2 separate regions of the Homo sapiens genome follow, and region 2 is linked to region 1. Evidence: promoter capture Hi-C in 16 types of primary human blood cells and fetal thymus (Javierre and others, 2016). All regions are on one chromosome and are shown on one strand. The core of a region is centred on a gene start or on the middle of the fragment in contact, and the rest is flanking DNA. Distances in the headings are between cores, read along the strand shown.

Region 1 (3,657 bases), core at 1,024-3,523:
ACTTAGCATATGGCTGCAGGGAAATTAGTTAACAGGCCTGGGCCTCAGTTTTTTTGTCTGTGAAATGGGGGTAATTACTGCCACTCATAGGACTATTTGGCAGATCAGTAGTTCTCAACCATGAATGTGTGTGTGTGTGTGTGTGTGTATGTGTTTGTGTAAACTCCCCCTTCCTGGGGACATTTGGCAATGTCTAGAGACATTTTGTTACTTTTGGATCGGGGGGTACTGCTGGCATCTAGAGGGCAGAGGCCAGGGATGCCATGGTGCCTCCCGCGACACGTAGAACAGCTCCTGCAATGAAGAATTATCTGCCTCCAAATGTCACGTGGTGAGGCCGAGAAAGCTGGTGGAGGTGAAATGATGGAGAGCTGCAGTGAGGTACCCAAGGGGTCTCTGGTTCACAGCAGGTGCTTCCCAAATAGCCATCTTTAAATGCAGCCGATTCATCCCTGTGTTGTCCACCACTCCCAGCACAGTGCCCGACACAGAGCGCTTGGGTGCTAGGATTAGGGAGGATGGAAGAGGAAAAAGAGGGATATTCTTATTCTTGTAGGTTCTATGGAAAGAAAGTTAAAGTGGCCAGGCGCGGTGGCTCACGTCTGTAATCCCAGCACTTTGGGAGGCTGAGGCGGGTGGATCACGAGAATCATGAGACCAGGAGATCAAGACCATCCTGGCTAACACGGTGAAACCCCATCTCTACAAAAAATACAAAAATTAGCTGAGCCTGGTGGTGCGTGCCTGTAATCCCAGCTACTCAGGAGGCTGAGGCAGGAGAATCGCTTGAACCCAGGAGGCGGAGGCTGCGGTGAGCCGAGATCGCGCCATTGCACTCCAGCCTGGGTGACAGAGTGAGACTCCGTCTCAAAAAAAAAAAAAAAAGAGAAAAGTTAAAGTACCTGATTTGGGAACGTGGAGGAATCAGGGCCGTAAGAGGGAAGGTGTTCTGCACGTGGGAACAAGGCTGGTGGGGGAAGGGATGGGGCTTCAAGCTGTGTGGAGCCACTCCAAGCAGTGCCTGCCCCTCCTGGGCTCCTGTTATTTAGTGGACAAGACACTTTTTGTTTCCGGCTCTGAATCACGGTGCCACAGTGAGGAGGAATGTGGCGTGATTCAGGCTGTAGGTCTTGACCATGACAAGCCACCCAAGCAACTATTTCAGTAATAACACTACGCACTTTTATATCTTCCTTTCATCGCAGATCTCAAAACACAGCGCAAATATTAATTAAGCCTCTTGGCACTCCATGAGGCACTGTGTGTAAATATCACTCTCCCCACTTAGCTGAGAGGGTAAACCGAGCCAGGCAAAGGCAGGGTGGCTTCAGCCTGGGGCAGCTCAGGCCTTGTTGAGGCTCCATCTCGGAGGAGAAGCCGGGGTTTGGAAGCCTTCCCGCCCCTCCAACTATGATTCCTGTATCCTCTTCCCCAGGCCTTTTTGGGGATACCACAAATAGAAACAGTTTTGTCCCCACTGGGGACGGGGGTAGAGAGGGCAGCAGTGTGTGGGCTGTAATGCAGAGGTGAGGGGCATAGGGAAGCTCCTCACGCCCAAATATGCCCCTTGATTGCCCGTCCCCAAGCCAGAGATGTGTGTGCCTGCACCTCTCAGAGCAGCAGTAATGGCAAAGACCCCAGCATCACAAGGAAATCGGAAATGCTGTTTTTAGAGGGGACACAGTGGTCGTAATTATATTTTTCCTTGGAATCTAAAGTAAATGCTTCTTCCAAAATGTTAACAACAGATGAAACACATTAATTGTCTGTAAATTTAAAGCCAAATAAAAAGTTTAAAATAAGAAAGAAAGAAAGAAAGAAAGAGAAGAATGAATAAGTTTTCTAGAACCACAGGGAGAAGCACTTGCCAATACTTCTAGGAGCAAAGAAACGCCCCTGAATCCTGCTCCATCCCTTTCTCGGGGTCCTTGTCTCCTTGGCCAGGGCAGGGCAGCAGGGGGTCCACAGTCACTTAGGGAGGGGTTTACCGGGTCGTTGTAAACTCCCCTCTCACGGTGGCCAATGCAGTGAAGGAATCCAAAAGATACACTGGGGGAAAGAAGGAAAGAGGAAAATGTGTCCTGAGTTTTTAAATACGGTTGAAGCAAACCCCTTACATTTAGGGATGCCAGCTATGTGTACCCTGTAGTGTCAGCCCGGGACATGCAGGCACTGCACTGTGGCCCACAGTCCCCCCTCCCAGGGCCAACACTGCCCTCTGCAGTGACTCACGCCCGGGATAGTTTAAATACCGGGACAGCTTAGGCGAGCCACACTCATGCTGCAGCCTTGAGCCGTCCCTCGTCCTCCTCTCAGGCTCCCTCTTGTCCACGGCGGGCGGGCGCCGAGCTGCTGGTAAGTAGGCAAGCCACCCCCATCCCTCCTCTCTGCTTAGAGGGCCCGGCCAGCCCCTTCCCATTTCTGCTGGACCTGCTCCCCTCGGAGACCCCAGAAGGGGCAGAGCTGACATGTGCCTGGGGATGCTCTCGGGACAGGGACAGAAGCAGCCTGTGCTGGAGGGGTGCAAGCCTGTCTCCCTCACTGCCTGGACACCAGGACCACCAGCCCCTCTGCTGATGCCTCAACAGCCTCTTATGCCCCTTGCCCTGAGCGGCTCATGATGTCAACCTGGGGTGCTGAGATGTCTGAGACCAGCAAGTTGGGCTGAAAGTGGACTAAATTATCACCCCCCTTGTCACTGGATTGACCGTTCTGGAATCTAGATCCACTGGGGGAAGAACTTCTCTTTTTAAGGTTCAGATTATTTGCGCCTGTGCCATCTTTCCTGGCACTTGCCCTGGTGGCTCCCAGTGGTCTGCCCCGCATTTGGTTCTGCCCAAGACCTTCCTTCATGGGGGTTTCCCAGGCAAGAGAGCTGTCTGCTTTGCATAGATGGATAACTCCTGCAAGTGTAACTTCAGCAGATGTGCTGGTCCCTGGTTTGCAGTTCCAATTTGGAATTCGGACATGGGCTCAGCATTGTTCAGGCTCTAACAGTGTGGCTTAGGGGACACTATGCTGGCAGTTTCCCCTCTCTCCTGCTGGAAGCGTCGGCCTCTGTGGAGCCTGGAGGCTTTGAGCAGGGAGTCAGGGCAGGAGATGGATTTGTGATGAGGTGGTATGTGGATTTGAAATTGTGACGGCTGCACCTTGACCCGTGTCTCTGCTCAAACGTAGAGGCAGGACCTGGGGCCAAGAAACCAACTGTGGAAAACCAGAGCTTTCAGGACTCTCCCACCCCTGCCAAAGTGCAAGAGCCATTCCACCTCCCGGGCCCAGGGCATCACCTCGGTGCAGCTGCACTCTCTCTGAGATGACACGTGTGCTCCAGTCGCAGGTGCCAGGTGCCTGTCTGCCACGTGCCAGCTTCTCCTTTGGGGTTATCTGGGATGCGTCACTTTACCTTGGGCAGCTCTCAGATGTGTTGCTGCCACTGGCTCCTTAATTTAGAAGTGCTCTAACGGCTGGCACTTCCTTCATTCTGCAGAGACTGAACATCTGGAGTAAATTCAGGGCCAGACAGCCCAATTTGCCTGTGGTCTTGAGTCAGCTGGGCGGGCTCAGCAGTGATGAGGCAGGCATGTGAGAGGGTTCGGGGCCAGGGTAAGTTCTGGATAGATTCGACAGACAGTCAGGTCATGGAAGGTTCTTCCCAGG
Region 2 (3,705 bases), core at 757-3,256, 600 kb after region 1:
CACGGCCAAATGGACAAGAACAGGGGTCGGAGCAAGGAGCATGGGGAAAGTGGAGCCCCATCCACTCTACCCTCGTGCCCAGAAGTGAGAAAGCAGTCCTACCTCCCACAGCACCGGCCCATGGGCAGAGGCCACCAAATAGAGTTGGGGCAGAGCTGCTGGAGTCTGGGAAAAAGACCCAGATTCAAGTCCAGGGGCCACTGCTTCTCTTCTGTGCGGTCTTGGGTAAGTCACTCAATCTTTTTGTAAAAAGGGGCTAACAACTCCTTTATCACAGAGCTGAGAAGAGTACAGAAAATACTTTTGGAAACTCCTAGCACAATGCTTGGCTTTAAATAGTCCCTTGTTCATTTTTTCAACAAAATTGGTTTATTATGACTTACCAAGTCCCCGACACTATTTCAGGACACAGGGCATTCAATAAATCCTTCCCCCCTTGTGTCTTTTCTTCCTCCCTTTCTTTTTCTCAGAGTAGGAAGAGAACGTGGTATCATTTGGTTTAAACGTAAAGGTGTGAATCAGTGTAACTGTGACTGTTGTTTATAAGAGAGCTTCTCCCCCATGATGTGAGACAGAAAAGATGCAGAGAAGATGTACAAATACACACTTAATACCACGGACAGAAAAGCACGCCTATCTTTCAGACAATTTCTCTCAACAGGCTGGAAAAGGGCAAATTATATCAAAACCTCTGATTGGAGAGGCCAGCACTTCCCCAGAAGAGAGGGGGCCAGATGTGTCCAGACAGTCTAGGAGGGCTGGGGGAATTTGAGGTGCTCCTCCCTGCTCCCGGTTATCTCCCATTTCCTTTGGGAGCCCCGGAGACACGGCCTTCCCAAAGCAGCCTCCGAGGTGGCCTGTGAAGCTTTTGTCCTTGGCAGCAGAGAAATTTCTGCTTCAGTGGTTTCAAACAAGGCTTGCATTAACTCCGGGCCTGTGAAGAGAGCACGTGCAACAAAACCCAACACCGTGTCCCGGCCCTCAGACAAGCACAGAAACAAATGGTGCAGGAATTTTTCAGAATAGAATCATCCGCTCAATGTCACTGCATACATTTACCTACCTCAGTGCCTATTCAGGGGCCCCTTTAAAGGGTGATATCAATAGAGATGGATCAGACAACATCTCTATGGCAACACCTCCACGGAAAAATGATGGCGGCCACAGCAAGACGAGCGATGACTATTTTTTTTAAATATACACAAATACAGCACTACGCACCCCAAAGCGCCCTTTGGCTCCCAGGACACAGGGCTGTGTTTAAGACAACAGCATAGGAGCTCATGACAAGACTAATTAGGAGCACAAGGGGAGTATGCAGGCTCAGGACCGAGAGTTTGACAATGAATTAAGACCTGGGGCTTTGGGATACTGAAATTTGTCAACAAAATTAACATTCCCTTTCCTGGAAACTCTCAAGCTGAAGGAGTTTACGAGGACCTTATTTTAAGTGTCCAACTTGGAGGGAATTATCAGAGAGAGAGAGCGAGAGACGGTAAAAACAAACAGTAGCCGCCATCAGCCCCTTCAACAGCACTGTAAACCTAGCCAAGGATGGGTTCCCGCCCACTGCTTCTCACAGCCGTTCTCCTCTGATGCCTTCGCAGATCGGAATTTGGGGAAGGAGTGGCCTCCATGACCTCAACATCAGAAGCCTAGAGGGTCTTTGTGGCTTAAAGGGCTGTGGTAAGAGAAAGCCTAAAATAATACTTATATTAGGAACAACCAACACCACGATAAGAAGAAGAACAGAAAAGGAAGACGTGGGTTCCATTTACATAGGTACTTTCAGGAGGTCTTGTGTACTGAACGCTTTAGAAAGAAATTGGTCACTGTCTCAGCAAAGCAATTTTTCCACTTGTTGGAAAGGATGATAAAAGGAGAACCGTCCCTTCATCCGTTGCATTGTGTGTCACAGCACAGAAATGGGAGGGAAACAGGCCCAAGGTCTGGGAGGCTGCTCATATTTCTCCACTTACTTTTCCCGTGACCTTAGGCACGTCATTAACCTTGCTTGCCTCTCCCGCTCCCTCCAGACACGTGAAGTACTGGCTGCCGATTGTAGAGGAGAGATTCCTGGGCAAGTGCAGAGTTATATAGAGTGCCCTTTCTACCTGACACACGAAAGAAATGAGCTGTAACAGACGCCAGCGGCAGGTGCAGGACCTGTGAGCTTCACTCACTGTGCCCCAGTGTTTGGGTTCCTGCGCTTTGAACCGCCTTACTTTAAGAAGCCTTGTCATTGGAAAATTGACCGCAGCTGATGGCTTCTGTCATTTGTGCTGTTGTTTGGAGGGCAGGGCTCTGCGTCGCTTTGTCAGGCCGCACAGGGAATGCGCCACCTCCGGCCCGCACTGTCTGCCTACCCAGACCCACAAGGCTCCTCAAAGCCTCCTCACCAAGGGCTGACTCTTTTGCCTTGTTCTTTCTTTTTCTTTCTGTTTATTCTTTCAAAACATGTACTCCTTTTAGGCAGTTGCGAGAACTTCTACAATAATCTGTGTTCTAAATTTTAGGAGCCACAATAAAAACCTCTCTTTTTTTCCTGCATTGAGACATTCTTAAAGTTAAACACATACAAATTAGATGATTAAAATAATTCCATTTTCTAGGATCTATAATTCAAAACAAATACCTCTTACAGAATTTTTAAATTCTATTAACCTAGTTAAAATACCTATTTTATATCCATTTGAGATATAACAAATATTAATTTCACTAATTTATATTGGTTTCTCTATCTCACTAATATATATTAGTTAAAATGTCTGAAAGGGCTACGAAAAAGCATGAATAAAGACTCAAAACATTTCATTCAATTTAAGAAAACAACATTACATTCAGAAGCAATTAATTCAATTTTGCTTACTCCATACATTTTCATTTTATTTTAATCAATTATCTCTCCAACATTATTGCAATATAATGCTGTAATAAACTATATTTGTTTTAAATAGAAGATATTACATTTTCTAAAATCATGAGTTTTAGCTTTCATAATGTTATTTTTTTCAAGCAAAATCAAACTTTTTCCCATTCTTCCTGTGACAGGAGTCAGTTTCAGCCCACTAAAAAGAGATATATGGCTGTTCGGTTCATATCAATTGATGGTAAACACATGTTGAAAGTCCTGTTTTTCAAGCTTGCATTTTGTTCATTGAACTGATGACAACTATCATTTCCACAGGGTTTAGCACTTCACAATATCAGCTGTACATTTTGAGCATGGCAAAAGAATTGATTGAGCTTCCATTTATTTTTTGCCTTCAAGGATATGTATGTAATCCACAAATACAATTCACAATACAGTTAAGAGTTGATGTGGGCCGGGCGCTGTGGCTCATGCCTGTAATTCTAGCACTTTGGGAGGCCGAGGCGGGCGGATCACCTGAGGTTGGCAGTTTGAGACCAGCCTGGCCAATATGGCGAAACCCCGTCTCTACTAAAAATACAAAAAAATTAGCCAGGTGTGGTGCCGGGTGGCTGTAATTCCAGCTACTCAGGAGGCGGAGGCAGGAGAATCGCTTGAACCCGGGAGGTGGAGTTTGCAGTGAGCCGAGATCATGCCACTGCACTCCTGCCTGGGCAACAAGAGCAAAACTCCGCCTCAAAAAAAAAAAAAAAAAAAAAAAAAAAGAGTTGATGTATACAGTGGCTCTACCATGCTTGTTGCCCTGAGCAGAGTTTTTAACATGAAAACAGTTA

The links. The method cuts DNA at HindIII sites, captures the fragments that hold promoters and counts their contacts. A CHiCAGO score of 5 or more calls a contact.
Region 2: a contact is called between a fragment that was not itself captured here and the fragment with the promoter of LRRC15 in region 1, in 6 of 17 cell types (M0 macrophages, M2 macrophages, naive B cells and 3 more). The highest score is 9.4, in M0 macrophages.

Annotation. Positions count from the first base shown.
Region 1 is chr3:194,368,359-194,372,015 of GRCh38, reverse strand. LRRC15 (leucine rich repeat containing 15) reads left to right here and starts at 2,273. Exons shown (of 2, transcript NM_130830.5): 1 at 2,273-2,355. RefSeq lists an enhancer at 1,850-2,814. The HindIII fragment of the contact is 9,301 bases long and covers 1-3,657 here.
Region 2 is chr3:193,769,797-193,773,501 of GRCh38, reverse strand. LOC105374282 (a long non-coding RNA gene) reads left to right here and starts at 1,117. Exons shown (of 2, transcript XR_924838.4): 1 at 1,117-1,686; 2 at 2,037-2,550. RefSeq lists an enhancer at 1-1,932. The HindIII fragment of the contact is 2,277 bases long and covers 868-3,144 here.